Regions from separate parts of the Homo sapiens genome. Here region 1 is linked to region 2. Evidence: promoter capture Hi-C in 16 types of primary human blood cells and fetal thymus (Javierre and others, 2016). All regions are on one chromosome and are shown on one strand. Each heading gives the region's core, a stretch centred on a gene start or on the middle of the fragment in contact. The rest is flanking DNA. Distances are from core to core; before and after follow the strand shown.

Region 1 (4,772 bases), core at 1,633-4,132, 570 kb after region 2:
AAATTCCCTCTGTAGCCAGGAGTCTTAAAGCTTCCCTGAATTTCCCCAAACCAAGCAACACATTTCAGTATTTGTAAGATCCTGTTATGAGAAGGAACTGGGTACCTTTTCTTTAATAAATGGTGGAATCTAAAAGGATGATTAATAAAGAGAATTTAAATATGTATAGCCCCTTCAGTTCTTGTTTATTGTGGATTTTTTTGGGGTTTTTTTGTTTTTTGTTTTGTTTTTTTTGAGATGGAGTCCTGCTCTGTGGCCCAGGCTGGAGTGCACTGGCAGGATCTCGGCCCACTGCAGCCTCTGCATCCCAGTTTCAAGCGATTCTCCTGCCTCAGCCTCCCGAGTACCTGGGATTACAGGCACACACCACCACACCCAGCTAATTTTTGTATTTTTAGTAGAGACAAGTTCTCACCATGTTGGCCAGGCTGGTCTCGAACTCCTGACCTCAGGTCACCCACCTCGGCCTTCAGAAGTGCTGTGATTACAGGCGTGAGCCACCACGCCCGGCCACCCCTTCAGTTTTTAGGGTGCTTTTACATCCATTTTCTTTATTTGAATAAAAATTGACAAGGGCTGTCTGGGAAGATTCCAGATAGGTATTTGGATCTTTCTCTTTTTCTGTCTTACTTGCATCTCCCCACCCTCTACCCATACTTTATAATGAAAATATGAGGAGAGTATTATGTGACTACATTTGCAATTTTGTTTTCACCGTGTAAAAAAGTTTATGTCAGTATTGAAGAGAGAAAAGCATACATTAGAGATTAAGTAAGTGATATATATACAGTACTTTAATCATGAAGTCGTTGTTTTCCTGGAAAGCTATCTATAAAGATAAAAATATAAATAATATAAAGTATCCAAGGAAACCTTAATATTCCAAGAAAACTGCCACGGTTTTTTTTAGACAGAGTCTCGCTCTTGTCGTCCAGGCTGGAGTGCAGTGGCGTGATCTCGGTTCACTGCAACCTCCGCCTCCCAGATTCAAACGATTCTCCTGCCTCAGCCTCCAGAGTAGCTGGGATTAAAAACGCTTGCCACCACACCCGGTTAGTTTTTGTATTTTTAGTAGAGATAGGGTTTCACCATGTTGGCCAGGCTGATCTCGAACGCCTGACCTCAAGTGATCTTCTCCCCTCTGCCTCCCAAAGTGCTGGGATTACAGTCATGAGTCACCATGCCCGGCCTTGCCGTGATTCTTTCGATGATAGCAATGTCTTAATTATTCTGTTCTGTAAATTTAGATTTGTTTAATGATGTTTTCCTAATGGTGAATACTCCTATAGATTTGGGGGGATGTAGCGTAGCAGCCAGACAAAGGGAAAAAGAAAAAAATCATGCTGGTGTTCCTTTCTCTCTCTACAATAAGCATTTGCCTGGTGTAGTTGCCAGCATGAAATACTACATTCTGTGGGCAAGTTTCCCACTGTGTTCTGTGAGAATAACTTGGCCCCAGTACCAGAGCCCAGCTCTTGAAGGGATTTCTCTCACTCTAGAAGTTATTTATAGCACACTATATCATGCAAGTCTAGAGTTCCTCAGATAAGAAAAAGATTACATTCAGGAGCATATCATGACTTTAAAACAGCTGCCTGGATCTCGTTAAGCTACTGAGATACTGTTACTTGCTTATAGATCACTTACAATAGAGGGATATCTAACTTCATGGGCCTATGGCAGGTATTTCTGGCTATTCCCTACCTACACACCAGATTTAACCATTCTAATTTTCCAAGCTGGTTTTGGTTTCTGTGGGTAACCTACAAAGCTGTAGGTATTCTTGAGCAAGTGAAATAATTCTCTGCTTACTACAAAGCTACCTCTACTAGATTTCATTAGAGTCACCAAATATGTCTTCAATATTGAAGTAGCTAAAAATTTCTATTGAAAGCCATTTAAAATGAGTACTCATCTGTCACCATTTTTTGCATCTTTTGAGTTTATCACCTGGTATTACAGTTTGTCTGCATCTCTTAATATTAATTATCTCCTACCTGCTATAAAACATGTTACATCATTCTTTTTAGCTAGATCTTCCCATGTATTTGGGTTAAAAGTCCACTGCTTTGCATGAGTCATTTGTTTTTCTCTTCTGACAAGTAAGCCCATTTTTTATATCAATATCTCTGCTTGCTTTCTAGTGGGAGCAGGAGAGGCTGCAAATTTTGCTGCTTATGCTTTTGCACCTGCCACCTTGGTCACCCCTCTGGGTGCTTTGAGTGTTCTCATAAGGTATGTGAGCAACAGGGAACTTGGCTTCTGTAGGTATTTTAAGACCAAGATAAACTTAAACCATAATAAACATATGGCTATGGATATCTAAAAGCAAACACACAAATCTAGACCAACCTGGGCTCTAAAAGTCTAGATGAACCCAAATTATTTCTGAGGCTCCTGGGAAGCTTTGGTCAAGTCACTCAGGCTCAGTTTACTCATTCATAAAGTGAGAACAATACTTTTTCTTGCCTGAAATCACAAAAATAACTTGAGAAGACTATAAAATAACAGTAGAAATAGGAAATAGACTGTCACATTATTATTTTAAAAACCTAAGACACAGTGAGTTTGATTTCCTACTAACATAAATGTGTTTTACATTTGTAACACTGCAATGAAGCATAGAAGATTTTTTAAATCTCTCATCAGAACAAATTGCCAGAGTCCTGTCAATTATTTTCCTCATCATAGTGGTTAATGACCATAGTTATCAGAGGACTTTTACAAGCATGGTGTTTTGGTTAAATTTTAACTCTCACTACAATTCTTGCATTGTTTGCTGGATACTTCTGTTTGGAGACCCTGTAGTTTTGATAGTGGAAACAGGAATAATTTTCCTATTTCATGGAATGTGGATCTAATTTTTCTGAGTTTATTATGATCCCAAATGAATGTGTTTGATAAGCATATACATTTTTGTCTGTTCTTTTCTTGTCTTTTTGTTTTCTATTCATTACCAACCTCTAGTATAAAACCTATGATTGAGCCTACTAAATTCTTTTTAGCTTCTGTATAGGATTGTTATGAAAATTAAGTGAGTTAATACACATAAAGCACTTCAAACACTTGTCTATGCAATGAATAGCTAGTAGTAGTAGTAGTAATAGTAGTATCTTCACTAAGGCTGCAGTCCTAAAGGTGGCCACATGAGGGCAACTCTAGGAAAGTACCTGGTAATTTATCATAATCTTGAGGACAGATGGGTACTTAATTGCCTTCATGGGGATGCCAGAGCATTAGAGGAAGGAGGCTGGCTTGCAGAAACCACAGCAACTGAAGCATTAGCAGTACTGGATAGGTCTAAGTATCAGAGCAGTAACAGGTGGTAAGGAAGTATTTTGATATTTTGAAAGTCTGTATCAAGCTTCTCCAACCCATGGCCCATGGGCTGCATGTGGCCCAGGACGGCTTGGAATGTGGCCCAACATAAATTTGTAAACTGTCTTAAAATATTATGAGTTTTTTTTGTGATTTTTTTTTCTTTAGCTCATTAGCTACCATTACTGTTACTGTATATTATGTGTTGCCCAAGACAATTCTTCCAGTGTGGCCTAGGGAAGCCAAAAGATTGGATACCCCTGGTCCGTTTGATTGTAGTGGTGTGAACTAGCTGATTATTAGCCCTGAGCAGAGTAATTTTTCTTTAGGAATGTATCTTTCTTGGAAACATCCATGGGCATACATATTCTAAATGTATCATGCCAGTAAGATATAAAAGATTTTCTATTTTGTTTGGCTTTACAGGAAAAGATGGGTAAATTGAAAATGACTTGAGTAGAACCTCTTGTAAGATCACTGGAAGATTATGGGATATAGAATATTATAGCTCTTTAGATATAAAAACAGTGAAGCATATTTGATTGCCCATCAGTTCTGAGTTTCAAACCAATCTAGGGTTTCAGTGTCATATAGCATATTCCAGTCAGCTCATTGGGATACATGGTGGCATGTACCACAGTGTGACTTCTGAGCTGCCATGGGATCAAAAGGTAATTGAGCTATAGTGATTTTTAATTTTTTCTCTCCCAACAGTGCAATATTATCTTCCTACTTTTTAAACGAGCACTTGAACATTCATGGGAAAATAGGCTGCATATTAAGTATATTGGGGTCAACTGTGATGGTTATCCATGCCCCACAAGAAGAGGAAGTCACATCTTTGCATGAAATGGAAATGAAATTGAGAGACCCAGGTCTGTGATTCAACCTAAAGAACCACTCAAATTCTGCTCCACTTTCTCTCCTCACCAAATAGTATCTGTAATAATATTGTAATAAGCTTTCTACATTGTGGGCCGCATTGTGGGTTGTGAGACACAGTGAGGTTTGATTATTATTTCTCCTGAAAAGATGGCAGAACTTATTTTTGTGTTCATGCTTCCCCTGTTACACAATGAAAGGGAGAGGTGGGGATGGTAGAGGCAAAAGACATATATTCAAAATCAAATCTTTGCCACTCTCTTCCTCTGAAAATAAAAAGTTAATCTGATAATATTCGCCCTAGCTCATAGTGGTATTGGTGAGATTTAAATGATATGTTTGTGAAAATCCTTTGTAAAATATTGAGAACTATGCAATAGAATGTTGTTTTTAATTTGATCTCACTTCTATTTCTAAAATACCTATGCTCTTAAACTCATGACTAACAAGATTTCAGAAAGGTATAATCCTGTGAGCATTTTCTAAAGTCAAATTCTTTTCTCCTTCTAACAGGGTTTATTTCCTTTGCTGTGATCATAACTGTGATCTCCTTGGTGCTGATTTTGATTGTG
Region 2 (4,420 bases), core at 1,298-3,797:
ACCATTCTAATTATTATCACTAGTCCTCCTCCTCCAATTCATGCCTTCAGCATCTATTAACTGAGATAACACAATGCCAGTACTATTCTAAGCACTTAACATTTAATAAGGTTATCTTTCTTGAAGTTATTTGTATCTTACAAGAGGAGTATTTGAACCAAATAACTTGGAAATAATCATATTCCACCCCATTTTAACTAATAACTCCTTCCCTCTAACACCACACATGCCAGAACACAAGCAACTGCTTCCAAATGGTGGCTAATATACTATACAAACTGAATTTTTATTTACCATAAATCAACATACTCAATTTTGAATCCATTCAAAATTCTCTACACCTTATCCTATACTGTCCCCATGCTAAAAAAAAAACCCAGAACTCAAACTGAAAAATAAAAGCATTATCTTTTTTGGAATATGTTTGTTATTCATTCACAAATATGTAATGAACACTTCATCCCAGTTATTAAATAAAGTCATGGAAATGACCTTATTTAATGACAAAGGTCATGGAAATGACTTTATTTAATGGCAAAGAAACTATAATAGCTACCGTTATGGATCCCTAACTAGGTACCACACTCTGGACTGATCCTCACTACAACTCTGAAGTAACCATTGTTATTATTTCTATTTTACAAATGAGGAAACTGAGAATAAATAAGGCCCTACCATAACAGAGCTTTAGTCCATTCGAAAAAGGCAAACATACAAATACATGTAATTTAGAATGATGGGGCCATAATAAAAATATATACAAGGTACGAAGGAGCACAGAGAGGAAGCAAGGAAAAGTCCATCTTAAAAGGATGAGTAGTTGGCCAAGCAAAACAGGAGAGAAGAAGTGCATTTCTAGACACAAGCAAGTTATTTTGGGGGGTGCCTAGGGGGTGACAGGAGACAAGGCTGGAGAGGTGGGTGGAGCCAAATCAAAAAGGGCCTTGTGTACAAAGTAAAAGAGCCTAGACTTCAATCTGTGCTCAACCGGGAAGCAACCTATTCACACATTTGCATTATTTTTCCATATATTTGCTAACAGGTTGGAAGATGTAAGAGAGAGGGTGAGCCCAGATGCCTCAATTTTCAGTTAAGGAGTTAAAGATTAAGGGGCTTAAATTGTTGAGGACACTCAAAATGGAGGCAGTAAAGAGGTAGAAGAGATGTGAAAAGGGGGGGCCATGGATGAAACCTAGAACGTCAGGTTGAGAGGGGCTGGGTGAAAGTGGTGGTGCCACAAACCGAAAATGAGGCTACGGGAGGAGTAGGTCCAGGGGGAAAGAAGAGCTGAGGCAAGGGCATACTGAATTTGAGGTACCTGTGGCAGAAGCCTGACACTCAGGGAAGAGATTTTGGTTTGGGGTTTTTGGGGTTTTGTTTTGTTTTTTACCTGGCATTCTTGAACCATAGAGGAAGAAATTTTTGGCTGGACCTAAAGATTTAGAAGTCATCGACATATATGGTAATAAAGGTTATGGGCCTTATCTAAATGGGTAGAGTGAAGACAAGGAGAGCCAAAAGCCAATAAAACACTCAGAATCAACAGATCTGAGCATAAGTTCCAGCTCTGCCACTAACTGGATGGGCAATCCTGGGCAAGTTAGCCAAAATTTCTGCTGACATTTCAGGTTCCTCACTTGCAAAAACAAAGAAAAGAATTAGGTGTTTTTTTTTCTTGACCCTGGCAGGAGGTAAGTTCATTCCTTTCTGTCTCCTCCACACTTTCTCCAGTATAAATGGAATAGAGGAAACAGGAAGCCAAAATTGAGACTTATAAAAAAGATGCTCCACCAGGGCACAGGCTGTGTCTCACTCACCATTTACCTCATCCCATCGGGGCGCTCAATCTATGGTAGACTTCAATGAAAAACTGGCTGAACAAATGAATGTGGTTGCTTTTTCCAGATTCTTACAAGCCAGGTTCTTTTACAGACTGGAAGTCAATGGGTACATCACCTCTTGGGACGATCCTAACTAAAGTAACTCGCCCAGTTATTTCTCTTCCTACCAACCACCCTCAAGGGGGGAGGCAGGGTCCGCTTCGGTCTTTGTCACATTGTATTCCAGCACCTAGCTCTGTACCTGCTGTCCGGTAGGTAGGGAGCCTTTGGGAGGTTATGTGTTGAATGAATTAAGAAAACGTATACTAAGAGGCAGCAAACACCGACTTAAGCTTTCAAAGCCCAGTCTGGTGTGGGCGCTTCTGCGCGCAAAGCCCCTGGAGCTGCACCTCTAGGCTGGGGGTGGCGCCCCAAGCTGTCCTCCTAGGCTCCCCAGGGAAGGCGGGGACCAACCACCCGAAATCACGCCCCTTCCTCCTCCCTTCCCTAGGGAGCTTGCGAAGGCGTCCGGGTCGCACCCGGCCTGATCCGCACGCCGGGCTGTCGCGAATCCCAGGCCCCGCGCCGCTTCCCCCGGTACCCGCCCTCACCTGCGGGCCCAGCTCGGCCGGCAGCTTCTGCAGCCGCCACAAGGGCGTCCCCTCTTCCGGCTCCATCCCTGCGCGAAGCTGGGGCTTGGGTCACGTGTCAAGGCTGGCCGCTTGTCTAAAGCTACGACTCGCCCACGTGACTCTCGCCGGCGGGGAGGGGCGTGGACCCAAGAAGTCCCTGTGCGCTTGCGCAGAGACCGAACTACCGCTTTCCCCGTAACCAGGGAGACTGCAGTTTGCAGTGATGTGGCTAAGATACCCTTGTGCTATTAAAGGCACATTTACGTATCTTTCAACGCAGTTTGTACCTTTGTTTAGGGTTCTATTGAACTTTCTCTGTGCTCTTTAGAAAACCGTCGAATAAAGGTAACCATCTTTTTGGGTGCCTGGGCATGGTCATTGTCCCAGAGTTTTAACAGAAGTCTCTACTAAAGTATCCTGATTTGCAAGGTAAATTAAGGTTTTGCCATGAGCAACGTTCTGTATATAGATCATCCTAGGGAGAAGGTACTATTTTCAGCCCTATTTGCAGAAAGCAAACATGATTAGAGAAGTCACTAAGGTTGTCAGATTTAGCAAATGAAAATACCAAGCGTCCAGTTAAATGTGAAATTTCAGATAAACAATAATATTTTGTTGTAAGTATCCCCTAAATATTGTATGGGATATATTTATACTGAAAATTATTTGTCCATCTGAAATTCAAATTTAACTGGTGTCCTGTATTTTATCTGGCAACGCTAAAAATCACTGACCTAAGTAAGAGGCCCAGTCTGAAGTTAAACAAAATCAATCAGACTCAAGAGCCATGCTATTAATGTTGGACTAAGCTCAAAGTCCAAATATCCTTTCTGTTATTTCTTATTACAGCTGTTACTTTAATCAGGTGCTGAAGAATTCAGTGGTGGTAAAATGAGCATGTCCTGCAAAAGCGGATAATAATAACTAGTAGACCAGAAACAGGAATTACAATCTAATTTATAAATTTAATAATAAAAGTGGTGCAAAATGGTGAAGCAGAAGAGAAAGTATTCAATCTATGGGCTACGCAGAGAAAAACTACTCATTAGCAGCATTCTAGGTTTACCTCCTACGTCCTTTCTCTGTGTGCCTCAACTCTAAAAGGTGAAGTCAATTTCTTTCTCCCGTGAGTTTTCATGATATTTTAGCTGTCCCTCACTTATTTACCACTTTCTAGTTCTTAATGCAGATAGATGCACAACACTCATTGCCCTATCTTAAATGTAATTGTCTTAAGATACTTTGTGAATAGGAGCTCCCCTAGTAATAGTTAAAATGAGAAGTCTGGAAAACTACTTCACCTGAGTCTTTCTGTAAATCTAATGATGGGTAAGGTCTATTTTGAGAAAAAAACTTAAATTTTATGTATTATAATAATTGGGAGAAAAGTACTTTCAAGCATCTACTATATGTCAAACCCTTCATATATTTTTATCTTACTAATTCCTGCTACAGCCTTGTACAGTGGGTATTACAGATGAGGAAATGAACTTGAAGTAATATATTTTGTAAGGTCACATAGATAGTAGTTACAAAATCACTGGTCTGAGGCCAGAAACGGTGATCTCAGTTTGCATGCTTGACTACCCCTGCTGAGGAACTGAAATGATATGGCTTACCTAAGGCCACGTAACATGACTAAATAAGGTAAAATGACACACCTAACAGGGCCCAAGGTTTAGTCAGAGGACAGAGAATTAGGTCCTAACTCATCTTTCAAGCAACACTGAGTACTAAGAAGAATTTGATCTTTACTCTTGAATTTGGATGGGACAAAATTTAGCCTGCAACAAATATGGTTTCCAAAATAGTTAACAACTTGCAAGAGAGACAGCGCTTAATATTTGCCCTTTGATTAGTAAGAGGATGTTCTTATGTGTGTAATCCAAGAGGTTTTCAAAACATATGTCTGTCTCTTGTAGTTCCATCTCTATGAGGTATATTCTGGTCTCCATCTCCCAAATCTTA

The links. Contacts are between HindIII fragments. The CHiCAGO score rates a contact against its expected background, and 5 or more counts as called.
Region 1: a contact is called between a fragment that was not itself captured here and the fragment with the promoter of COMMD8 in region 2, in 1 of 17 cell types (total B cells). The highest score is 6.4, in total B cells.

What each region holds. Positions count from the first base shown.
Region 1 is chr4:48,030,849-48,035,620 of GRCh38, forward strand. It overlaps NIPAL1 (NIPA like domain containing 1), which reads left to right. Exons shown (of 6, transcript NM_207330.3): 4 at 2,145-2,235; 5 at 4,033-4,193; 6 at 4,714-4,772. Among named protein-coding and RNA genes, the nearest start is that of NIPAL1, 16 kb to the left of the region's middle. The HindIII fragment of the contact is 959 bases long and covers 2,404-3,362 here.
Region 2 is chr4:47,461,155-47,465,574 of GRCh38, forward strand. It overlaps COMMD8 (COMM domain containing 8), which reads right to left and starts at 2,548. Exons shown (of 5, transcript NM_017845.5): 1 at 2,432-2,548. The coding sequence starts at 2,497. It overlaps LOC107986277 (a long non-coding RNA gene), which reads left to right and starts at 2,729. Exons shown (of 3, transcript XR_001741683.3): 1 at 2,729-2,797. RefSeq lists a silencer at 2,279-2,538 and an enhancer at 4,187-4,236. The HindIII fragment of the contact is 2,743 bases long and covers 2,172-4,420 here.